Regions from separate parts of the Homo sapiens genome. Here all the other regions are linked to region 1. The links are contacts of gene promoters, found by promoter capture Hi-C in blood cells and fetal thymus (Javierre and others, 2016). All regions are on one chromosome and are shown on one strand. Each heading gives the region's core, a stretch centred on a gene start or on the middle of the fragment in contact. The rest is flanking DNA. Distances are from core to core; before and after follow the strand shown.

Evidence for each region. Contacts are between HindIII fragments. The CHiCAGO score rates a contact against its expected background, and 5 or more counts as called.
Region 2: a contact is called between a fragment that was not itself captured here and the fragment with the promoter of KDM3A in region 1, in 1 of 17 cell types (fetal thymus). The highest score is 6.3, in fetal thymus.
Region 3: a fragment that was not itself captured here is called in contact with the fragment with the promoter of KDM3A in region 1 in 2 of 17 cell types (fetal thymus and total CD8 T cells); the score reaches 6.8 in fetal thymus.
Region 4: a fragment that was not itself captured here is called in contact with the fragment with the promoter of KDM3A in region 1 in 4 of 17 cell types (fetal thymus, naive CD8 T cells, endothelial precursors and 1 more); the score reaches 7.2 in fetal thymus.
Region 5: a contact is called between a fragment that was not itself captured here and the fragment with the promoter of KDM3A in region 1, in 1 of 17 cell types (M2 macrophages). The highest score is 5.1, in M2 macrophages.
Region 6: a fragment that was not itself captured here is called in contact with the fragment with the promoter of KDM3A in region 1 in 1 of 17 cell types (M2 macrophages); the score reaches 5.1 in M2 macrophages.
Region 7: a contact is called between a fragment that was not itself captured here and the fragment with the promoter of KDM3A in region 1, in 1 of 17 cell types (M2 macrophages). The highest score is 5.1, in M2 macrophages.

What each region holds. Positions count from the first base shown.
Region 1 is chr2:86,439,504-86,443,032 of GRCh38, forward strand. It overlaps KDM3A (lysine demethylase 3A), which reads left to right and starts at 1,868. Exons shown (of 26, transcript NM_018433.6): 1 at 1,868-1,941; 2 at 2,515-2,730. The coding sequence starts at 2,545. RefSeq lists enhancers at 937-1,480, 1,302-1,501, 1,582-1,661, 2,652-2,711 and silencers at 1,792-2,181, 2,402-2,451. The HindIII fragment of the contact is 3,261 bases long and covers 401-3,529 here.
Region 2 is chr2:86,823,054-86,826,582 of GRCh38, forward strand. It overlaps a transcript of CD8B not described here. Among named protein-coding and RNA genes, the nearest start is that of CD8A, 34 kb to the left of the region's middle. The HindIII fragment of the contact is 4,501 bases long and covers 1-3,529 here.
Region 3 is chr2:86,801,987-86,805,515 of GRCh38, forward strand. The region is part of intron 1 of LOC105374846 (a long non-coding RNA gene); the gene reads left to right. It also overlaps a transcript of CD8A not described here. Among named protein-coding and RNA genes, the nearest start is that of CD8A, 13 kb to the left of the region's middle. The HindIII fragment of the contact is 3,855 bases long and covers 1-3,529 here.
Region 4 is chr2:86,776,449-86,779,977 of GRCh38, forward strand. It overlaps RMND5A (required for meiotic nuclear division 5 homolog A), which reads left to right. Exons shown (of 9, transcript NM_022780.4): 9 at 1-1,593. Among named protein-coding and RNA genes, the nearest start is that of CD8A, 13 kb to the right of the region's middle. The HindIII fragment of the contact is 2,601 bases long and covers 539-3,139 here.
Region 5 is chr2:86,759,888-86,763,416 of GRCh38, forward strand. The region is part of intron 4 of RMND5A (required for meiotic nuclear division 5 homolog A); the gene reads left to right. Among named protein-coding and RNA genes, the nearest start is that of CD8A, 29 kb to the right of the region's middle. The HindIII fragment of the contact is 381 bases long and covers 1,700-2,080 here.
Region 6 is chr2:86,124,718-86,128,246 of GRCh38, forward strand. It overlaps PTCD3 (pentatricopeptide repeat domain 3), which reads left to right. Exons shown (of 24, transcript NM_017952.6): 10 at 278-365; 11 at 738-798; 12 at 1,078-1,163; 13 at 2,444-2,588; 14 at 3,224-3,274. Among named protein-coding and RNA genes, the nearest start is that of SNORD94, 9.4 kb to the right of the region's middle. The HindIII fragment of the contact is 9,969 bases long and covers 1-3,529 here.
Region 7 is chr2:86,145,366-86,148,894 of GRCh38, forward strand. IMMT (inner membrane mitochondrial protein) reads right to left here. Exons shown (of 15, transcript NM_006839.3): 13 at 2,337-2,468; 14 at 703-832. Among named protein-coding and RNA genes, the nearest start is that of SNORD94, 11 kb to the left of the region's middle. The HindIII fragment of the contact is 4,515 bases long and covers 1-3,529 here.

The DNA.
Region 1 (3,529 bases), core at 618-3,117:
AAGCTCTGAAATAATGAATTCAACATAGAAAGTATATGTTCCTTCAGGTTCAATAGAATTTTTCCCTTGAGTTGTTTTTCAAATTAATATTTAATTACATAATCTAAGTTCTCCATATCTTCCCTTATATTTTACATTTGAGTTGCATATTTCTGAGATATTTATGTCTTCTACTCTGAAAACAAATTGTCAAATTTGTAAAATTTCTCATCGTTCATAGCGTCACCTTAGGATAGGCCATGTTTTTAGATTCATAACAGTTCAGGAGACCATACTGTCTTCATGGACTTTATCTTTAATATAAAATCCTTTCTCTTTTGATACTTTTAATTGTATTAATATTGCTATACTGCTTTCATTTGGCTACCATTTGATTAAATATTTTAGCCCAGTATTTTCAAGCTTCCTGTTTTGTAAGCATTTGCTTATGGTCAATTTATAGCTGGATTGTCCTTTTATTCCCAACTGTCTTTTAAAACTTGTGAGTGAAATTAACCCATTTACATTTATTGTAAATACTGATGTTTGGACTTTTCACATGAAAAACATTTTTACCATATGTTCTGGTTTCTTTTGCTTATCTCGTTCCCATTTCTGCCTTCTTTCAGCTGGATAGGTTTTTTCTTCTCATTTAGCAGCCCCCTTCCTTTAAATGGTCTACAGATTATAAATCCAATTTAATTCTTGTTACTAACTTTAAAAACTTAAAATCACATTCAGAATATGTATATTGAAAATCAACATCCAGAGTTGATTTGCATCTATAATCCCTTATATGTTTCCAAACATTCTCTGATTATACGTTTCCACGCTTGTAAAATGGGAGGCATGAGTTCTTCTTAAGGATTAAATGTGATGTAATGTCAAACACTAGCCTTTATGAACATATCTTCAATTTCTTCATTCCATTTCTTTTTCATTCAATCAAAATACTTCAGGTCCAGAGCACACAATCACCTCTAAACTCCTTTGTCCTTCAAAGTCACCTTCTCTTTCATCTCTTCCATCATTCATTATGGCCTTCAACTACTTTAAATTTCTTTGTAAGTATCTGAATACCTTCTCAATCCCACTTTGGAGAAAAAAAAATCTCATTATACATTGTATTTAAAGGTCTCTTTTGCTCTAAATTTAATGAACGTCATTATCCAGTAACTCCACGCCTTTCTTCATTTATCCTTCAAAATGGCGGACTTTAGACGTTCCACGATCAGTACCACGTGCGCCTGCGCCTCCCGCAGCCATTTCGCCCAGCAGCCTAAGCTCGGCGAGGCGCCTGCGCACGAGCCTCCAGAGCACTATCGCTCCTCCCTCTAGCTGAGTACGCCTGAAACCGCACGTTCTCTTCCCTGCCCTCCCCCGCTAACCCTGCACCGCCCTCACCCTTTCCTGTGAGATTCTTCCGCCAAGTGGAAGGCTCATCTTCGGTCGACAGCCTACGCGGTTGAAGAACAATCCAGTAGGCACTTATAGCTCAGGGTCTCGCCATTCAGTCTTATCTATGCGCCACAGCAATTTTCCTCCGGGCCCCAAAGTTGATAACCGATTTCGCGGGACTTTTTTTTTGCATACTGTGAGGCAACAAATGGAAAGAATAGGCCTATGGCGGAGGGATCACTCGCTTATTCTCTGTGTACTTTAACCTAATGGGGGTCGCCCGGGAGTCGGAAGGGGGAGGGGAAAGGGAGGAGGCAGCCAAGGAATTGTTTTTTTCTCTGGCCCCGCCCTCGCCCGGGGGGCCAATGGTGATGATCTGTTTCCCCCGGAGCCTCGCCCAGCTCCTGTGTTTCAGCCAATGAGCGGCGGAAGCGGCTCCGAGGGGGGCGGGTCCGGGAGGCTGTGCGTGTCTTGTGAGAGCTCTTGAACCAAGTCAGCGCTGGAGTCGGCTAGGCGGCTGGAAACGGCGGCTGCCGCCGGTGACTCAGGGAGGCGGGAGGCGGGGTAAGAGCGCCGCGGCCTCGGCTGCGGGGAGAGGGGAGAGAAAGGTGAAAGCGCCGAGCGCGCGGCCCCGTCGCCCGTTGGCAGCGGCGCAGGCCCGGGAGACGGGCGCCCGGGGTTCGGGGCCGGGGAGCTGGGCGCCGGGGCGGGGCGGCGGGGCAAGTGCGGAATCGCGGGCTCGCCCACCCTCCCCCGTGGGGCCGCCCGGGGCGGGGACCCAGCCGCCCGGGACCGGCTCTCTGCACCAGGGGCCTTTTCTTTTCGGGGCTGGGGGCTGAGCACTTTCAAATCCACTCGAGCCGCAGATAATTTTTCCCTCACTCCCTCTGCGGTTGCGTTTGAGCTGTTAGAAAAGCCAAACTTGGGAGAGCGAGGGTCACGCGGCGCTGGGGCCCGGGTGTGTGGCGGGGGAGGGCGGCGGGGGGCGGGAGGGCGCAGGAGGGGGGCTCGGTGCGGGTCCGCCCGGGGCCGCGTCCTCGCGCGGGTTCGGCGCCCTCCGCCCGCCCTCCCTGCTGTCTCCGCCCGGCCCCCTCCCACCGGCCGCCCCCGTCGCATTTTGTTTTTGTGTTTTTGCAGGGAGGAGCTCTTCCTGCAGGCGTGGAAACCATGGTGCTCACGCTCGGAGAAAGTTGGCCGGTATTGGTGGGGAGGAGGTTTCTCAGTCTGTCCGCAGCCGACGGCAGCGATGGCAGCCACGACAGCTGGGACGTGGAGCGCGTCGCCGAGTGGCCCTGGCTCTCCGGGACCATTCGAGCTGTTTCCCACACCGACGTTACCAAGAAGGATCTGAAGGTACAGGCGGCTCCGGGCCTCTGCCACCGGACGTTTCGCAGTTACCGTGGTAACGCGACCATCGGTTCCCTCCTTCCGTTTTCTGAAAACGGAGACCAGAAAGTTGGCATATGATCTGAAGGTGCAGGAAGCTAGATCTTGAAAGTCTTTGGAATGGTTGTATAGAGCCGAGTTGTGTTTGGCCCACAGCTCCTGGCTGCCTGGCTTTAATAATGGGCTTAGGGTTGTTCAGACACGCTTCATTAATGCCGGTGCTGTGTCCCACCAGGACTGTCTCATCTTTACTGCAGAGGAGGAGGAGTATTTTTGTTAGCGTTAGGTAGGGCCTGTAAGTGACGTTTGGAGTCATTAAGAATTGAAGGTTAGTGCTTGGAAGTACTTTCAGCTGGTTTTGTTTGTTTGTTCCTGTTAATTTATTCACTCAACTTTTAAAAAAACTTTCAGACTTGTTAAAAATGAAGTGAGTGTAGAGGGAGGAGCTTAAGTTCTGTTTGGCGTATTAGGATGGGTGTTTGTCCGTATATGGTGGGTCAGGGCAGGAGTGGGTTCCTGGTTGTCTGTGATGAGCCGGTGGGTGGGTGTGGGATATGACCATATATGGAGGGATGGGGTGGAGCTGTCCCATATATGGCATATTGGAGGACTGGCTTAGAAATACTGCACTTGGACGCATGAGGGGAGGGAGAGAATTGGGAACAAGTGCGGCCAGTGATTTTTTTTTAAATCATTATGACACTCAGAACCTTTTTCTGTTAGATCTTTTCAAAGACAGATGAATTCTGATTGTGCTCCCTAATAG
Region 2 (3,529 bases), core at 670-3,169, 380 kb after region 1:
CATTACCACCATGCATCCACAGAACTTTTTCATCTTCCTAAACTAAAACTCTGTACCCACTAAGCACCAACTCCCCATTCCCCCTCCCCCAGTTCCAGGTAACCGCTATGATATTTTCAGTTTCTCTGACGAATTCAGAGACACCACTCTTGGTACCTCCTGCAAGTAGAATCATACTGTATTTACCTTTTTGCACAATCATTTTTTAAAACTTAAAAAAAATTTTTAATTAATTTTTTTGAGACAGTCTCACTCTGTCACCCAGGCTGGTTGGTGTTTGCAGTGGCACGATCATGGCTCACTGTAGCCTTCACCTCGTGGGCTCAAGTGATCTTCACATCTCAGACTCCCGAGTATTTGGGACTACAGGCACCCACCACGGTGCCCGGCTAATTTTTTAATTTTTTGTGGAGATGAGGTCTTACTATGTTGCCCAGGCTGGTCTCAAACTCCTAGGCCCAAGGGATCCTCCTACTTCAGCCTTTCAAAGTGCTGAGATTACAAAGCGAGCCACAAGCCTCGGCCTGCACAATCATTATAAAAAGCTCTCTGAGGATAAGGACCAAGGCCCTGATTTGTTTTCATTGTAAACATAATGTTCATTTGCTCATTGATTTGATATTGACTGTGCACCCACACGTGTGCTGGGCACTGTTCGAGGCAGGGTTTAAGAAACGCTCAAGAAGCACATGTGGTCTCTCAAGGGGACGGTGTAGTGGACAGAGATAACAAAGAAAAACACAGAGAAGAAAGAATGACGGAGAGTGAGAAGTGCTGTAAGTGCAGTGACAGACACCGCCCCAGGGCCTCCTGGACAGGCTGCATGTTTGTAGGATGATGGGGAGTGGTCCTGGAGAAGACTGAGGAGGAGCCCTGGGGGGTCCAGGCAGAGAGAGGAGGGGCACAGAGCTGGAGGACGGAAGGGCCTTTGTACAGCATGTGTGTGTGTGTGTGTATGCTGGGGGACACGCAGGGAGATGGCAGGCCTCAGCACTGGGGAGAGCTGGAGTGCATTCTAGATGCAGCAGGGAGCTGGAGCAGGGACCCTCTTCTCCCTGCCTGGCCTGAGAGCAGGGAAGGAGGCCCTGGGCTGTGGCTGATTGCAGTCAACACTGAGGAACAAGTGCCAATGCTTCATGCAGGGCACAACCTCTGCCACACTTTTACCTATGTGACCTTCTGGGCCAGGTACTGTGAGGTGCTTCATTTCTCAGATAGCAAGGCTGAGGCTCAGATCAATGCTGCTTTGCACACAGCTGGAAGTGGCCAAATCAGCCCGAAACCCCCATTTTGTTCTGCATCTTTGTGCAGGGCTGGGTGGCTGTGTGTGCAATGTCTGTTGTGCTGGACATGCAACAGGAAAGCAATTGTTACCTCTAATTTTTAGGAGGCCAAAGGGCAAGAAGCCACGTGCTCCAGGCCAAAGAGCAGCTAAGGGAATGAAGAGTAAATCTGTGATTGAATGAATGAGCAGATGAAAAGAGAAAAAGCCTCCCCCTGCACAAACCTGCAACCCATTCCCTTCCTGGGGTCCTGTGGGGAGGGGGCTTTTCATCAGTGCCCTGGGTCAGGGAAGAGAGAGGGAGGCCTTGTGGTGGAGGGAAGGGGAGGAGAGCTCACCATCAGAGGTGGAAAGAAGGTTCTAGTCCCTCCAGAGCACACTCAGGGATGCTTTCTTGTGCTTCTGTCCCAAGGCCTTGTCTCGACCTTGCTTACTATAAACACAGTGCTACATCCTGCTTTTCCTTTACTTCATTGCATAAACCTTCCCTGAATCGCTTCCAGAATCTTTAGAACCACCGTTTTTAAGGTTTGAATACTTGTATACCAAGTAAATGACCACAGCTTATTGAAACTCCTCTTTATAGTCAACCACTTAGGTTGTTCTATTGTTATTTCTAGAACACATAACTAATGCCAATAAATAATGATGATGGCACAGATTAGTATTTCCTGAGGATGGATCTCTTGCGTGGGTTCCAAAGCTCTAAGCAATTTATATGGGCCCTGGAGTTTCCTCCACAGCTCCTAAGGCAGCTCTGGCACATGAGGAGGCTGGGAAAAGAGCAGGGGTGATGGGTGCATCTGCCTTGGTAAGTGAACTTGTTGGTTCTGTCCCACGCAGCTTGGGTGTCGGTGTGGGGGGTGTGCTGCTGGGGTTGGAGAGGGGCCGCCCTACATAACGTCCCCACATAAAAGGGGCAGGTGTGCAGGTGGTCCCAGGGATGGCGGCAGCTCTGTCTGACTCCCCCCTACTGGGGGGCTATGGGGGCTGTGGGAGTGGAGGGTGAGGATCACCGTCCTCCAGGATCCCCCAACCCCTCCTTGGCCATTCCCTTTGACTTCCTTGGGAAAGAGTCCAGGCTTCAGAGGATTCTTTGCTCATTTCAATCTGACCCCATTTGAATCCCCAAGGGTCGCAGTAAACCCCAGGCACACAAAGACAGAGGCTTGTGGCTGGCTTGCGGTTGCTGTGATCACGATGGAATCAGACAACGGCTGCCCTGGCAGGCAGCACCCAGGCACCTCTCAGGTGGGAAAAGACTGAGCCAGGTGAATGTCCCAGAGCTCCAGCCAGCTCAGGCTCCTATGGGTGATAACTGCACTAGACACCTCTCCGAAGAAGCCAACAGAAACTGCATGCAGCGGCAACATGAGCAAAGATAAGTGTTGGGACCCGTTCTTCGCTGCCACCTCCAAGTCTGAACAGCAGGCTCTAAGGGGGGCATGGGAGCCCCTCAGAAAGGGCCACTGCCCATGCCTCACCTCCTGCCCGCCACTCCACTCTTTATTGTCCTACCTGACTGTAACAGGCTGCATGCTCAACATGGTGTCAGCTGCCCCAAAGAGCACCAGGAGGAGACAGGGGTGCCATTCGGACATGAACAGGAGCTCCTACCTGAATGTGCAGACCTCCGCCACTGGAGCTCTCGGGGGGAAAACATCCATGACAGCCTCCCTGAGCCTTGAAACATTTGCAGACCAAGCAGGCTCAGGTGCCCGTGTTTGCAGGCGGTTTTTTAGAACGTATCATTTGTCTTATATTGATGTACCCTTCAAAGCCCGGGAGGAAGTGTGGTCTTGTGGGGAGCTCTGTGCAGGCAACATGAGAGTCTGTATTGTCTTCCTAGCTCTGCCCCGGTTGTCAGAGGAGTCCATCTGGGCCACAGGGGTGAGGAGCCGTCACCCCTGCCTTTTGTTTAGCCGGTGACACCTCCCCAGTTGTGTGGCGGGTGATGCAGCAATAATGCCCACGAGCTCCTCTCAACAATCAAAACAAAACAGAGAGCCACTCTAAAACAGTGGCTTTCTTGCAAATGGAATATGCTGAGAATCTGTGACATGTGCAGGTCGGTAAGTGAGAAGGAAACAGGAACCACCAATCGATTCTGACAATGTAGAAAGCAGTGGAGGTTTGGGGCCAGGAGAACAAAAGACCTATGGGAGAGGCGGTGACCCAGGAAGGGTGGCCATGGACTTGGGTGCATCACCTGAGCCCTGTCACTTGGAAAGAACCCTAACGACCATC
Region 3 (3,529 bases), core at 626-3,125, 360 kb after region 1:
GAGAATTCCATACCCTTCACCCAGTTTCCCCTAACAAAGGTTACTTTTATATTTATTTATTTATTTTTAGAGACAGAGCATTCTTCTGTTGCCCAGGCTGGAGTGCAGTGGTGTGATCTGGGCCCACTGCAACCTCCGCCTCCTGGATTCAAGTGAGTCTCTTGCTTCAGCCTCCCTAGTAGCTGGGATTACAGGCACCCGCCATCATGTCTGGCTAATTTTTGTATTTTTAGTAGAGACAGGATTTCACCATGTTAGCCAGGCTGGTCTCAAACTCCTGAACTCTAGTAATCTGCCTGCCTCGGCCTCCCAAAGTGCTGGGATTACAGGTGTGAGCCACCATGCCTGGCCAAAGGTTACTTTTAATGTTCATTAATTTTGAAGACTTGCAGTTTATTTATGCTATAAAGGACAATTGTGCACTATTAATAGTCGCAATGATGACATAATCTAAGACTTTTAATATTTAGAAACTTATGGTTGCAGGAAATTAAAAATTCATCTCATGTGCTTTTTTGGCAGAGAAGTATGAAATATTGATCAATATAAGGTCCTTAAGCATATGCACCTATTAAACTTTTATGGAGGAAGTAGAATAGAATTCATAAGTCCATTTGTTTTTACTCTTTATTTTTTTGAGACAGAGTCTCACTCTGCCGCCCAGGCTGGACCGCAGTGGCACAATCTCCACTCACTGCAACCTCTGCCTCCTTGGTTCAAGTGATTCTCGTGTCTCAGCCACCTGAGTAGCTGGGATTGCTACTCAGGTGTGCACCACCACACCCGACTAATTTTTGTATTTTTAGTAGAGATGGGATTTCACCCCTTTGGCCAGGTTGGTCTTGAACTCTTGGCCTCAAGTGATCTGCCTGCCTTGGCTTCCCAAAATGCTGGGATTACAGGTGTGAACCATCGCGCCTGGCCTAGAATTCATAAGTTTAAGGAGAAAAAGGAGTGATGAAAAATTTCCAAAAGTTAAGAACTTTTTCTTGTATTTTAAAAATGAGTGACGGTTGAAACAAAATTGATATATTATTTATGTGCTATTAGAAATAATTAAAAAGAATAAGGTTTTCTTTTTTAAAAATCAACATTTACTTTGGAAATTATGTCCTTTATAGTGATGAAAAATGTTTGATGTCAAGTTAAAAGTGAGTAAAGAAGTACATTCATTTTATAACAGCATTTTTCACAGTAGCTAAAATGTGGTAGCAACCCAAGTGTTTATTACTGGATGAATAGATAAACAAAATGTGGACTCAGGCATCTCTCTTCTGGGCTCATACCCAAAGGAAATGAAATCACCACCTCACCAAGGTATCTGTACTCCTGTGTTTATTGTAGCATTATTCATAATAACCAAGATATGGAGACAACCTAGACAACCATCAATGGACGAATGGTTTAAGAAATTGTGGTACGGATATATACAAGGGAATTCAGCCTTAAAAAAGGAGGAGATAGCATTTGCCATAACCTAGACGGGCCTGGAGGACATTATGCTAAATGAAAGAAGCCAGACACAGAAAAAAAATATTGCACGATCTTACCTGTATGTGGAATCTTTTATTTATTTATTTTCTTAGACGGAGTCTCACTCTGTTGCCCACGCTGGAGTGCAGTGGCGCAATTTTGGCTCACCGCAACCTCTGCCTCCTGGGTTCAAGTAATTCTCCTGCCTCAGCCTCCTGAGTAGCTGGGACTACAGGCACCTGCCACCACACCTGGCTAATTGTATTTTTAGTAGATATGGGGTTTTGCCATGTTGGCCAGGCTGGTCTCAAACTCCTGACCTCAGATGATCCACCTGCCTTGGCCTCCCAAAGTGCTGGGATTACAGGTGTGAGCTACCATGCCTGGCCTGTGGAATCTTTTAAAAAGGTCAAATATATAGAGAATAAAACAGTGGTTATCAAGATTGGAGTAGGAGAGAGGAAATGGGCAGATGTAGGCCTAAGGATACGAAGTAGCAAACATATAGGATGAACAAGTCAAATAAAGTACAATATGAAGACTACAATTAATAATAGCATATTATTCCAGGATTTTTGCTAGATGAGCATAGTTGCTTTTGCTACAGGAGGAAATAAATGGGTAACTAAGTGAGATGATGCATAAGTCAATTTGTTTCACTATAGTATCCATTCTACTAAATATGTGTGTCTTATACCATGATGTTGTATATACCTTATATATACACAATAAAATTTATTTAAACAAACAAAATGTGGTATATACATAGAGTGGAATATTATTCAGCCTTAAAAAGGAAGTTCTGACACATGCCACAATATGGATGAATCTTGAGGATATTATGCTAAGTGAATTAAGCCAGTCACAAAAAACCAAATACTGTATGATTCTATGTATTTGAGGTATTTAAAGTAGTCAAAATAATAGAGACAGAAAGTAGAATGGTGGTTGGGACAGGCTGGGGAGAGGGAGGAGTGGGAGTTATGTTTAACGGTTATAGAGTTTTAGTTTTTCTAGATGAAAAGAGTTAGAGAGAAGGATGGTGGTGAAGGTTGCACAACAATGTGCATGAACTTAATACCACTGAACTGTACACTTAAATGTTAAAATGGTAAGATTGTTATGTGTATTTTGCCACAATAAATTAGTATTATTATTTTTTTTAGAGACAGAGTCTAGCTCTGTCAACCAGGTTGAGTGCATTGGTGTGATAACAGCTCACTGCAGCCTCCAACTCTTGAGCCCCCAACTCCTGGCCTCAAGCAGTCCTCCTGCCTCAGCCTCCCAAAGTGCTGAGATTACAGGGGTGAGCCATTCACTGTTCCTTGCTAAATCTTTTTTTTTTTTTTTTTTTTTTTTTTGAGACAGAGTCTCGCTCTGTCACCCAGGCTGGAGTGCAGTGGTGCGATCTCAGCTCGCTGCAAGCTCCACCTCCTGGGCTTAAATGATTTTCCTACTTCAGCTTCCTGAGTAGCTGGGATTACAGGCACACGCCACCATGCCTGGCTAATTTTTGTATTTGTAGTAGAGACAGAGTTTTGCCATGTTGGCCAGACTGGTCTCGAACTCCTGACCTCAAGTGATCCACCTGCCTAAGCCTTCCTAAGTGTTGGGATTACAGGCATGAGCCACCACACCTGGCCTAAATTTTTTTTTTTAATGAGTGAAGGAGTCCATAGTCTTTCATACTTTGGGGTGATACAAGAAAAGGAAAAAGGTTTAATGACAACTGCCACTTTCATTTATTCATTCCTTTGTTGATGTACTTTTGGGCTGGGTTTTGCTGTTATAAGCTAAACTACAATGGACATCCTTGTACACATTCCCTAGAGTCCAAGTACAAGATTTTCTCTAGGGTGTTTTCCTGGAAAAGGAATGACTTGAGGAGTATGGCAACCTTGTGAGAAATGACTGATTCGAAAGATGTGTCCCATAGCTTTTGATACATTTTTCTCCGAAGTCATGGTTCCAGTCCACACTCACACCAGCTGTGGAGGAGTTTTCATTTACCCACGAGCTTTGTTATTTCTGGTTTTGTCAGTCTTTTCAATTCTGC
Region 4 (3,529 bases), core at 589-3,088, 340 kb after region 1:
CACTAAAACCCACACCACATTTTGTGGGAAATGAGGATCCTGATCCTCTTTTGTCCTCTCCAGGTAGTCTCGCAGGTTATGCAGCTTAAGTTCAGTCTTCTTTATGCTGCGATTGATTTCCACCTCAGTGGCTTAGCCTTTGGGACAGTGGATACTGCAACAGCCAAGAACTCTTGGTTATCCGCACAAGCTGCTGGTAGACTACATTAGCCCTCTGGTTTTCCAGCTCAACCTCTGATAAAGTGGACTGAGAGCCACGCTGCTCAGTCTGTTTCGTCAGCCGACTCAGGTTATTTTCAGGGAAGGCATGGAGGCATAGTTTGGTTAGTTTCATCACTAGGATGTATAAGGTGACGACACAAACCAAATACCTTTCTTTCATCACTTAACTATACGTACTTTATCTCTGGTAACACTAGAATGCTGTGGTCTTGAGGGAATGTTAGCAAGGAACACATAGAAGATTTGGTGTTTCATAAGCCTGTCTAGGTGTGGCAGGTTTTGTGTGGTACACTGATGTTTACCATAAGCAGGTACAAGCTTCATGAACCGTTCTTAATGAACTATAATTGAATAGATACCAAAAATAGAATGACAAATGTATTTTAATAGCAGATGAGGCAGTTTTAGGATGAATTTTCCACTGTTGATTTTACTTCAAGACATAGCAAGAGAAACAAAATTTTGTTTTCAAGACATTTCCACTGCAGTTTCAAGCTGTAGTGGGCATATGCTTCATTTACTTCCAAAGAGGCAAAAGCAGCTGGAATTGGCTTACAGCACATGCTTTGTTTCATGTTATGGGTGAGGACCTACATACACTCTTACTTTAGCAGTCACTTAACCTTCTCCAGCAAGGCAGTTGTGGGGTTCACTAGGATTTAGTGCCTGATCTTTTTTTTGGGAAGGGGCGGGAATGAATGTGTTGGGGCTGGGAGGGAAGCAGAAGAAAATGGGAGTGTGAGTGAGTGTGCATGTGTCTGAAGTTCACCATTGCCCCCACCTGCACCTAGCAAGGAACAGGTGTTTGATGTATTTTGCTCATGACTGCAGTATGCATGTATTTTTTTCCTTCTCTGTGTTTTCTAAACTTACACTAAAGGATTCATCAAATCATCTTGTTCAGATGGCTCAGGATTGTATTTATTTTGCTTACCCCGTGCTCTTGGGTTCTATAGTATTTCTATAATTATGTAACGAGAATAGTGTTGCACTGTAATCTATCATATAGAGCTATATGTATGGAAAATTTTGATCAATTTTTTAAGAAATGTATCCTGTTTGCAAAGGCACAGTAAAGTTGCATCTTATAGACTATAGGCAATAAAGCTAACAATAAACCTTATTTAACACAAACCACATCCATATCCTCTGTTCATTTGATTTTGGAAAAAGTAGCATATCCAGTAGTTTCAGGGAATTCATTTTAACTTTAAGAATTCTGATATATTTAATTTATAAATTTCGGACTGATATAATAGAGTTTTGGAAAACTATAAGAAATGCTTTGTTAATGTGTGTATTCCTATGTAAAACACATGGCTTTTCCTGTGTATATTTTTAAAAATTAAAGAAATGCACATTTAAAAAGTGTTTTGTGGAACCAGTCTGTATAAATGTGCCAGGTGACAAAGGTATGAGGGAGGGAGTAGGGAGGTGCTGACTGTGAGAAGAGAAAATTGCTGTCTGTATTTGCTAAGGGTCTGCATGTCAAGAATTTAAGAAAATATCTGTCCCCATCTTACTGTGTTTCTGTGCCACCAACAGTGAGAAGAGAAGGTGACTGAGCAGTGTCCCGAGTTGTTTTTTGTTGTTGTTTTGAGACAGACTCTCACTCTGTTGCCTGGGCTGGAGTGCAGTAGCCCAATCTCGGCTCACTGCAACCTCCACCTCCTGGGTCCAAGCGATTCTCGTGCCTCAGCCTCCCGGGTAGCTGGGATTACAGGCATGTGCCACCATGCCCAGCTAATTTTTTTTTATTTTTAGTAGACAGTGTTTCACCATGTTGGCCAGGCTGGTCTCGAACTCCTGACCCTCAAGTGATCTGCCCACCTCAGCCTCCCAAAGTGCTGGGATTACAGGCGTGAGCCACTGCACCTGGCTGAGTCCCGAGTTTCTGAGTAGGGGATTGTTTTAATGTTTCCAGGCTGCTGCCCCCTCTCGCCCCTCCTGTGCACAGCGGGGACCCTGCCCTGTGTACTGACCAGAGTGGCAGTGAGTGTATGATTGGTAAAGTGGAGCCCGGAAACAGCTCGATGTCCAGGCTGCTGGAGGGGGTAGAACTTGTGCTGTCAGCATTACCAGGGAAGACCAGAAACTGAATTGCCTTGTCCTCCATGGCAGGCCAAGGTTGTAGAGACCAAGCACTTATTTGTACTCCTTTTGTATATTTTTTAAGAGAAAGACTTAGTGTTACCTGAGATTTTAGAATGTTTCTTACCTATGGAAACCCTTGTGGTCCCATCCAGTCAGGTTGGAGCTAGTGGCCCAGGTAGTATAGAAGAGGCCTGGCAGGCCAGGCCAAGGTCTCACCACCTTTCCCTCCAGCATTTGGGCTCCTCAGGACTCAAAGTGTGGTCCATGGACCAGCAGCATCAGCATCACCTGGGAGCCTGTGAGAAATGCAGAATCTCAGGCCTCAGCTCAACCCTGCTGAACCAAAGTCTGCATGGTCATGAGAAAACGGGCTTCCCTTATAAGGAGTGTCCTGGATGCTTCCTATTTCAGGAAGTATCCTCCCTCTTAAATGTGGCAGGTCAAGATCACACGTACTGAACAGAATTTACCCTTGAGGACTAAGGGTAAATCTGTTAGTCATCAAGAAAATTTAAATTTAGTGTGCTTTGAACTCTAGTTATTTTAAAAATCAGTGTATTTCTTTAAGCATCTAGGTAATTGAGGGAGTACTGTATTTGCAGTATGGTAAAAAGCATTTTCCACCCCCTCCACCAAAATGGGGAAGGTGAGTGTCAAAGATGAAAAATAATTTTCATAATGACAAAATAAGGACTAAAAATGCATCCTTAAACAAAACAGCTTGATGCTTCTTACCCCCCAGCAGAGAAACTTGATAATAAACAATATCCCAGCAGAAAATAGGCTTTCTTAACTTTTCTTTTTCCTTCAGCACCCAGTAAGAAGCTTAATAGCATAACCCTGTGTACACAAAATTTAGAATTCTGAAATATTTTACAAAACAATATTTAGTGCTACAAATGTGTGATTTTATTTTTAATGCTCACCAAGACTGATTTGATTTTGTGACCTGCTAATGAGCCAGTTTTTACAACCTTGCATGACGGGACAATGATGCAGTGGTCCACTTACCTACCAAACTTCTTTGAAATCTGTCAATATATCTGTGATAGAAAGTACTTAAAAAAAAAAAACACTTTCCTTGTAGGGTGTTTCATACCCTTGTGTGAGCCTCCTATGCTAGCAAATGTGGCGATACATTCAATGTTAGAAGGCTTGTATAATCCAGAGCTACTAATTACTGAGCTCTCCTGTGTGCCAGGCAATGTTGCAT
Region 5 (3,529 bases), core at 640-3,139, 320 kb after region 1:
TGTAATTCTTTAAGATTTATGAGAATGGGCCACAGACACCCTGACTTGCTCAGGTTCTCAAACTTTATGTCTTTCCTCATTATATCAGTCTGGAACTTCTTTGTCTTTATAAAGTAACCTCTTACCACTGAGATCTCTGTGTCCTTTCTCTCCTGTTTGTATTCTTTTTTTTTTGAGACGGAGTTTCACTCTTGTTGCCCAGGCTGGAGTGCAATGGCGCAATCTTGGCTCACCACAACCTCTGCCTCCCGAGTTCAAGCGATTCTCCTGCCTCAGCCTCCTGAGTAGCTGGGATTACAGGCATGCGCCACCACACCCGACTAATTTTGTATTTTCAGTAGAGATGGGGTTTCTCCATGTTCATCAGGCTGGCCTCAAACTCCCAGCATCAGGTGGTCCACCCACCTCGGCCTCCCAAAGTGCTGGGATTACAGGCCTAAGCCACTGCACCCAGCCCTTGTATTCTTTATTGAACCTATGGGCAGTCTTTGCAGGTTTCTAACATACATAAATTCGTTTTTACCACAGTTTAGTTAAATAACACCTGGCTGCCAACAACACAGTTCAGATTTCAGTCACCATGATGTATTAACTGTGAGCAATTGTATAAAATACAGACTTCTCTGCCAGCTCTTCAGTCTACACATCTGGACATAACAGGAGCATCATGGTCATGACCAGTTTTGTCACTTCGCTCTTGATCACTGCACATCTACTGTCAGTTACTCTCAGGCAACAGCTGTGTGGGTTGTGTCACCTCTTTAACTCCCAGGGATAAACCCACGTGACATTTTACAAAAATGGATAATTGGAAGACGGACTTGGCAACAAGAAAAACCTCTAGAAGTGAAATTGAATGTGATTAGAAAGATTTGAAAAAGGACAACAGCAAGATGAAGCTAGGGCAAGACCTAAGCCTACAGGAAGCTAATGGTACAAAGCATATTGGAAAAGTCCTGTCACTATAAAGACGAGGGTAAAGTCACTTCACCATCTTTTCACTTATATTGCACTAGAATAGAAAGATGCTTGTGGTTTAGATGGAACATTTACTTCTACTTTGGATTGAGAGAGAGAAGTGTGTGTGTGTGTGTGTGTGTGTGTGTGTGTGTGTGTGAATCAGTTTGGCTACTATTCGGGCCAAATTGATAATAGTTGCCTTATTGAAAGAAGATGGTAATTACAAGGATATTGAAGAACTTCACAGCCAGTAAAAGATGCTTTTATCATGTTCAGAAGTTGTGAATTGACTAAAGCTATCTGAGGAAGCTGCTATTGTGAGTAAGGATGCTGCTGTGAAATTTGTACTCAGATGTCAAGGATTCATTAAGGCGGATGTTAACAATGATCATCACAGAAGGCAACTCTTGATACCAGAGCTTAGCAAGAGGCATAGAATAGTGAAGAATAGTGAATAGAGTTAAAAATAGATTGACTTTCTTATTAGGAGGCAGCTGCGGAGAGTGACTTTGAATAAAACCTATGCTTATTTGGCCAGTTAACTGTGGCCAGGGAATTGAGGTCAAGAAAATACAAATGTGGGTTTCTGGGTACAATCCTGGAGGTATAAGAGAGAGGTCCTATCATGTCAGGTGAGGATTTCACCTTAATTGCTTACATGTGCTTCAATGTTTGGGAGAGTTAAAAGTGGGGTATCTCATCCTTGGTTTAGAAAATGACATTTTGCCAGGGAGGGAGAAGCTTGGAAGTCCCTTGCCTTGTACAATTTAGTCTTAATATAGTATTAAGAAGTTAAATGAGGACAGTATTGTTTCAGAATAGGATGCAAAGAAATACGACTTTTAAGAAATTTGAAAACTTGTATTCTATGAATTTGGGTTTTGTGTTGTCCTCTCCTCCTCCCAGTTCCTTTTTGTAAAGGTATCTACTTACTTTTCTAAATATTTCTTGGCAAGGAGTGGGGAGGAATTAAGCAATGCTAGTTTTTTTCTTATTTCATAGCCTTGTTTATAGCAAAATTTGAAACTGTGCAAACATAAATTTAGTACATTAAAAATTATATTTGTCTAAATAAATGCCTCTCCAGGTTAAGTGGCGTACAGGTGTTTATAGCTTATAAAGCTTAAATTGATAATTCATAACTTTCAGGAAAAGTAATTTATAATTACTCTATAGGCCTGTTCATTTAAAAAAAGGAAGTTAAGAAATTTTACTTTTACATTAGCTTAAAAAGTTACTGCCTTTTAAAGTATAAAATTAATACATGTTCATTACAGAAAACCTGGAAAATATAGGACAGCATAGACTGTTACAGAAATCACTGTAATATGGTATTGATTGGTGTGTCTTCCTGGTGGTTTCAGACCCCTGGTGCTGATCTAAGAGTTGGTGCCTTGTTCCGATTAGTCATGGCCCATGGTATAGCAGTTGATAAATAATGCTTGAAATCCCAGAGTCATTACTGCTAAACATTCTGGTGTCTAAAAATTACTTTAAAAAATGTATCACTCTTTTGGCTGGGCATGGTGGCTCACGCCTGTAATCCCAGCACTTTGGGAGGCCAAGGTGGGTGGATCACCTGAGGCCAGGAGTTCAAGACCAGCCTGGCCAACATGGTGAGACCCTATCTCTACTAAAAATGCAAAAATGAGCTGGATGCAGTGGTGCATGCTTGTAGTCCCACCTACTTGGGAGGCCGAGGCAGGAGAATGGCTTGAACCTGGGAGGCGAAGGTTGCAGTGAGCTGAGATCTTGCCACTGCACTCCAGCCTGGGCAACAGAGTGAAACTCTGTCTCAAAAAAAAAAAATATTTTTTTATATATATATATATCATATATATATCATATATATCATATATATCATATATATCATATATATCATATATATCATATATATATATCACACTTTCAAGCTGAGCACAATTGCTCACACCTGTAATCCCAGCACTTTGGGAGGCCAAGGCGGGAGGATGGCTTGAGCCCAGAAGTTCGAGACCAGCCTGGGCAACATGGTGAAACCTTGTCTCTTCAAAAAAATACAAAACAGCTGGGTGCGGTGGCGTGCACCTATGGTGCCAGCTACTTGGGAAGCTGAGGCGGGAGAATCGCTTGAGCCTGGGAGGCGGAGGTTGCAGTGGTGAGCTGAGACTGCACCACTGCACTGCAGCCTGGGCAACGAAAGTGAAACCCTTTCTCAAAAATAAAAATAAAAAATAGAAAATCACACTTTCCTCCCATTTAACACTATATCATGAACATATTCCTATGAAAATGAGTTTTTTTGTGAATTGTCTATTTATGAATTTTTCGTTTTTTTCTATTGACTTTTTTAAAATTAAAATTTGTAGTTACTCTATTAGCTCCAGTCTTTGACTTTACAAGCCCTTACACATACATCTCGTATCAGAAAGAGAAAAAAGAAAAATCTTACTGCCTTTCCTTACTTGCTAGTAGGAAAACATACTCATGCTTATATGATTGAAGGGGTGTATAAACTTTTGAAAGTGATCTAATTTAAATGCACTACTTGGAACTGGAAATCTGTAAGGTGCCTGGCAGACTAGAGACT
Region 6 (3,529 bases), core at 648-3,147, 310 kb before region 1:
AATAGCACAGATATTTATATACTTGTTTATAAACTTTTCATTTTCAATTGTAATTCTGCCACTTAACCTGCGAAGCCCTGACAACACATTAAGATCGTTAAGTCTTGATTTTCCCCATTTTCAAAATGATAATAACCATAATACCCTGTAAGAATTGAGATAATGTATAGAAAGTACTTGGCACATTGCCTAGAACATAATAAACCGTCAGTAAATGGTGGTAGCTCTCATTGGTATTTCTTATTGCCTGGGTTCACATTTACTCTCTTGTGTCTAGAGCAAAAAACAACGCTGAGAGAATCTTTTCTCTAATGCCAGAGAAAAATGAACATTCCTATTGCACAATGATCCGAGGAATGGTGAAGGTACATTTGTTTTATTTATTTTTGTCTTTCATTTCCACCGATCAGGGTGTTTCAGCCTCAGAACTACTAACATTTTGGGTCAGGTAATTTGTTGTGGGGTCTGTCCTGTGCATTGTAGGATGTTAGTAGCTCCCTGGCTTCTACCCACTGGATGTGAGTAGTGTACTCCTCCCCCACTTTCAGTTGTGACAAATAAAAATATGTTTAGGCATTACCAGTGGATAGAAAATCCCACTGCACTAGAGTATGAGCTTCATGAGAACAGGAGCCTGATCTATTGAGCCTGAGCTATATTACCAAACTCTAGGACAGAAATGTGCAAGGACTTCTTAAGTAAATGAATTTGATGATGCTTAATTTTTCCTTTTCCAGCACCGAGCTTATGAGCAGGCATTAAACTTGTACACTGAGTTACTAAACAACAGACTCCATGGTGAGTTTGAGAACTCCCCTCTGTCCCTTTCTCCATTTCCTTCTTTTAATTGTCTGTGTGAAGGCTTTGGATCGTGCCTCAGTCATTGGCCTACACTTTACCTTTTCCTGAGGCGTAGATGATTGAAGCAAGAGTAGAGATCCAGAGAGGAGAGTAGTTTTCCAGTTTTGTGGACATGTGATTAGTCAAGGGACACATAGGAATGACTGCTTTGCCTTAAACTCAGCCATTTAGGGATTAATCTTCAACCCCAAATTTTATCATTTTATTATTTTACAGCTGATGTATACACATTTAATGCATTGATTGAAGCAACAGTATGTGCGATAAATGAGAAATTTGAGGAAAAATGGAGTAAAATACTGGTAAGGAGGAATCCTCAGTTTATTTTTTAATAGGGCTTAAATACTCTTTACCAGAAATACATGGGCTGGCCAGGTGTGGTGGCTCAAACCTGTAATACCAGCACTTTGGGAGGCCGAGGCGGGCAGATCACCTGAGGCCAGGAGTTGGAGACCAGCCTGGCCAACATGGTGAAACCCGTCTCTACTAAAAGTACAAACAATTAGCTGGGCGTGGTGGTGCACGCCTGTAATCCCAGCTACTTGGGAAGCTGAGGCAAGAGAATCTATTGAACCCGGGAGGCGGAGGTTGCTGTGAGCAGAGATCGCACCACTGCACTCCAGCCTGGGCAACAGAGCAAGACTCCGTCTCAAAAAAAAAAAAAAGAAAAAGAAACAGAAGTACATGGGCTGGAGACAGCATTTATGAGCATGTGTATGGCAGTCACTGTGTAGCAGTTACCTGTTCACTACCCTTTCCGCAGCCCTGGGACTCAGCTGTGTCTGGCACATAAGAAGAAAAAGTTGCTTGACCGAGAGTATAGAGCTAGAATTCTGGACCATTTTATTCATTTATTTTTCATAATAGTTTTTCTGTTACAAAGTAATGCATATTTGCTGTCAAATCCTATCAGGTGTAATTTCAAAAAGTTGAAATCACTGGATTGATTCTCGCCTAGTAACTTAAGAATAGAAACGGCTGGGCACGGTGGCTCATGCCTATAATCCCAGCACTTTGAGGCTGAGGCGGGTGGATTACCTTAGGTCAGGAGTTTGTGACCAGCCTGACTAACATGGTGAAACCCCGTCTCTACTACAAAAATACAAAAATTAGCCGGGCATAGTGGTGCTCGCCTGTAGTCGCAGCTACTCAGGAGGCTGAGGCAGGAGAATCACCTCAGCCCACGAGGCAGAGGTTGCAGTGAGCCAAGATCGCACCACTGCACTCCAGCCTGGGCAAGAAGAGCGAAACTTTGTCTCAAAAAAAAAAAAAAACCAACCACTTTTTTATATCATACTAGTCTATTATTTTTGCGTCTTTTCTTGGAAAACTCTCCTAGGTAGAAGACTGAAGACAGTTGACCACCTCTATCAAGTGGGGTGGGTGTTTGAATTAGCAGGCTTCTTTAAAAGGCAGAATCATGGAACCTGCTAATTAATAAACAGTTCTTAAAAGAGGGATATAGTTACTAACCTGCTTTAAACATAAGCAAGAAAGCTAAATTCTTTACTTTGTATGAAACATAGATTATTGGACAGATTACCCAGGCATGAAAGATACTTCTTGTTTTTTATTCACCTAGGAGCTGCTAAGACACATGGTTGCACAGAAGGTGAAACCAAATCTTCAGACTTTTAATACCATTCTGAAATGTCTCCGAAGATTTCATGTGTTTGCAAGATCGCCAGCCTTACAGGTTTTACGTGAAATGAAAGCCATTGGAATAGGTGAGGATGCGCCCTTGAGTTCTCTGAGGACAGAGACTGTGCCAGCCAGAGGTTTCAGGGCTACATAAGCAAAGAGCTTTAAATTATTCTTGTGCTTACATAATATGTTGGAAATTTTCTTTCCATGTTTGGCACATTTACTTACATGTACTTATTATAGTGGGAGTGCCTTTATCATCTTAGTGTTCATTAGTATTTTAGGTACTTTGTTTATGGATCTGTTGAATCTGAGGAGAAGTGATTGCTTTGAGTTAGCTAGTTTTAAATTCATGACATTTTCCCAACATAATTAGGTATTTGAACCTAAGTGTGTGCTAGTGTATTGTATATTTTTCATTAATTACTTTATTGAAAGTTGCTTTGGGAATCAATTCACTTCAATATATTTTACTGTTCTCAGTGAAGAATGTGACTAATAAGTATTTGGACTTTCAAAAAGTGATACAGTCTTTGTGATAGTTTTTTACCTTTACATTAATGAGTTGGAAAATAACTTTGTTCAAAGGAATAGAAATGCATATTTTGCTTAAATATTAACAATATGTTTTTAATTCAGTGTGTCTCAGTAAACTATGTTTTGGATTGCTGTGTTTTTACCTCATTGTTTATTTTTTCTGTCTACCTGGTAATTTGAGAACCCTCGCTTGCAACATATCACCATATTATTCGCCTGTTTGATCAACCTGGTATGTATGGCCTTAAATTGTGTTAATTTATATAGAAAATTGACCAGCTTTCTTGAGTTTATGTGATTAATTGTTGTAGTTATCTTCTCTGCATATGAATTAAGAAGAGAGAATTTGTAAATTAACCTGTACAGCCTGAGCAGAAAGTTGTGGTTTTTTTAGATACAGGATCTTGCCCATTGCAGCCTTGAACTCCTGGGCTCAAACAGTCCTCCCTCCTCAGCCTCCTGAGTAGTTAGGATTACAGATGCCCAC
Region 7 (3,529 bases), core at 354-2,853, 290 kb before region 1:
GCACCTGTATTCCCAGCTACTCAGGAGTCTGAGGCAGGAGAATCGCTTGAACCCAGGAGGCGGAGGCTGCAGTGAGTCGATATCACACCACTGCACTCTACCCTGGGCGACAGAGCAAGACTCTGTCTCAAAAAAAAAAAAAAAAAAAAAAAAGAAATGGGAGACTTCAAACGAACTTAACAGACTACTGGATCTTGAAATTCCATGAGTATTGAATTTATTTTTATTGTTATGTGACAAAAAAAGATTCCATAACATCCTAAAAAAACCCATTTTATTAATACCCTCATTGTCATGACATTTCTCTTTCAATGTGGCACATGGAGGCCTCAGCATAAATACTGTCCATTTGGTAGTTGGACTCGGCAAATCACCACCTCCAGATAACCCACCAAGTCTGTGGAAGGCAAGCATGGGACCACACTGACCCCTAGCCCTTACCACCCAGGCACATGCGACATAGCCAAAGGATACTGGGTAAATAGCCTTGTAAATGGTGATTTTGTGTTTGTCATACAAGGTATAAATTTCTAGTTATATAGATTTTGCCATTACTTTTAATGGCAAAAACTGCAATTAAGTAGAGTGATTAGTATTTTTATGTCCTGATGTCAGTACATGTACCCCATTTTCCCTATAAAATTATTTTGATAAATTATGCTGAGGAAAATTATCTGTAAGATAAACATAGCTTATGCTTACTCTGAACAGCCTGTTCGATTCCTCTGAGTCTGGCATAGGCAGTATTTATATCCAGAGTAAAGTTGTCAACTTGCTCTTGACTGAGACGACGAAATTGTAATTCTTGTTCAGAGAGTTTCTCAGACAGGTTCTGAAATAAAACAGAAATAGTTCCAGAAAAAAGTGATACTCAATGCATGTCATGTAACTGTGTAATCTTCCAGCAACTACTTGCTGAAGCAAAGAGGGCCTTAGAGTTGTCACGAAATTCCTACATTTTGTGTAAAGTTTCAAAAATGTCCTGACTCATATTTGATGTATATAATATATTTTTTTTTTTTTTGAGATGGAATCTTGCTTTATTGCCAGGTTGGAGTGCAGTGGCACAATCTTGGCTCACTGCAACCTCCGCCTCCCAGATTCAAGTGATTCTCCTGCCTCAGCCTCCCAAGTAGCTGGGATTACAGGCATGCATCACCATGCCAATTATTGTATTTTTAGTAGAGATGGGTTTCACCATGTTGGCCAGGATGGTCTCGATCTCTTAACCTCGTGATCCGCCCACCTCGGCCTCCCAAAGTGCTGGGATTACAGGCGTGAGCCACCGTGCCCGGCCGATGTATATAATTCTTTACAGGTTTACTGATGGAACCTAATATTAGAGGAGGCATACCAAGAGAAGAGAGAAGGCTGTTAAAGTCAGAAACAAACTGCCAACTGTATTTTATTTTTGAGACAGAATCTTGCTCTGTCATCCAGGCTGGAGTGCAGTGGCACAACCTCAGCTCACTGCAACCTCCACCTCCCAGATTCAAACGATTCTCATGCCTCAGCCTCCGGAGTGGCTGGGATTACATGCATGCACCACCATGCCCAGGTAATTTTTGTATTTTTAATAGAGACAGGGTTTCGCCATGTTGGGCAGGCTGGTCTTGAACTCTTGTCCTCAAGCGATCCACCCGCCTCAGCCTCCCAAATTGCTGGGATTATAGGTGTTAGCCACTGTGCTCAGCCACAAATTGTCAGCTTTAGAAAGTAAATTATCTGTACTGCAAACCTAAACATAATAATTAGATTAAATTATATTCTAATATCTTGTATTTAAGAGCTTATACATTAATTTTTCTCAGAAAAATATCCAAATAGAATTTAAAATACCTTTTCATACTGACATACATCGCGATTCTCTGGAAGATTTTACTTAGAAAACCTCAATATCTTCTTGCAAGACAAAGTAACAAGTTAATATTACTGTAAATGATTTCTTGAATAGAAACTATGATTACAGGCATCCTGATAATTTACTGGGATTTCAAAACTTCTCTGGGAAATTACCTCAGTTATAAAAATCTAAGCAGTACCATGCCATCTATAGGAGGAAGATACACATGTCAAATATTACTGTCTGCATTCCTGAAATCCCCTTTACCAACTCTCCTTAAAGCTCTGAAGATTCCAAATGACTAGAATATATATTTTAAAAACACATCTGATCATGAACACACAGGTACACCATTATGTAAAAAGAAGCAGTTTTGTAGACATACAAGGAGATTTCCAAATCTTCGACATCCTCAGAGTACATTAAAAGGAAAGGAGAGTCTCTTAATCCTGTCAGGAAGAGGGGTGTGGCTGAAGGGAGTCCAGGTCCTCACCTGCTCAAATTCAGACTTCAATTCCTGTTCTTGTACCCTAAGGACATCTCGCAAGTGATCAGTGTGGGCAGCTGCCTGTCGGCGAAGCTGGGTTCTCATTTCATTTTCCATGGCATCTCTGACTTCTTCTATCTGTGAAACCAAACATAGTAGTTATTAGTTTTCAATTCTCCACATATACTTTTAGGAAAACAGAAAGACCACTATCAACCATGACAACAGCAGCTTCCATATCCTGAACGCCTCTAATGTGCCAGGCATGTGTACACTTCTACTTCTCATGTGAAACGGAAAACTAAACCCTGGAAGGTGATTCAAACAAGATCACACAGCTGTGGCAAAAACCAGATTTCAAACAAAGGTCTCTCTCACCCCCAAACTTGTGGTTTTTCCACATCACCAGGCTGCCTCTCATATAAAACACTGCCATTTCCTGAATCACATGCTCCTCTGAGAAATAACTAAATCCAGGATATGAAAAAAAGTAACTATATACTTGGAATCAAGCGTAGCTTTACTACAACCATCTGTGTGACCTTGGGGAAATGATTTATCTTCTCAAATCTCCACTTTCTCATTTGTGAGTAATAATGCCTACTTTGAAGAATCATTAAGAAAATTAGTTGGCCGGGCGTGGTGGCTCACACCTGTAATCCCAGCACTTTGGGAGGCTGAGGCAGGTGGCTCATGAGGTCAGGAGATTGAGACTATCCTGACTAAAATGGTGAAACCCCATCTCTACTAAAAATACAAAAAAAAAATTAGCCGGGTGTGGTGGCGGGTGCCTGTAGTCCCAGCTACTCGGGAGGCTGAGGCAGGAGAATGGCGTGAACCGAGGAGGCAGAGCTTGCCGTGAGCCAAGATTGCGCTGCTGCACTCCAGCCTGGGCGACAGAGCAAGACTCCATCTCAAAAAGAAAAAAGAAAAGAAAATTAGTAAGTATCTGGTAGTTATTGACATAGACTTGACATAGACTTCTAAACAAAGAAAACTGCTTATTTTTAAATGAATTTAAATTCAACATGGGCCAAAAAAAACCAAAAAATATACCTTGCCTAACAAATAGCCATAGGTCACTTTACAAATTACTTAACACTGATTACCTGAAATCCAGAACTTATTTTTTCTCAGAAACAATATAATAAATCAATGAATCCATTCAGTCAGTGCATAAGTATTTATGAAGTGCTACT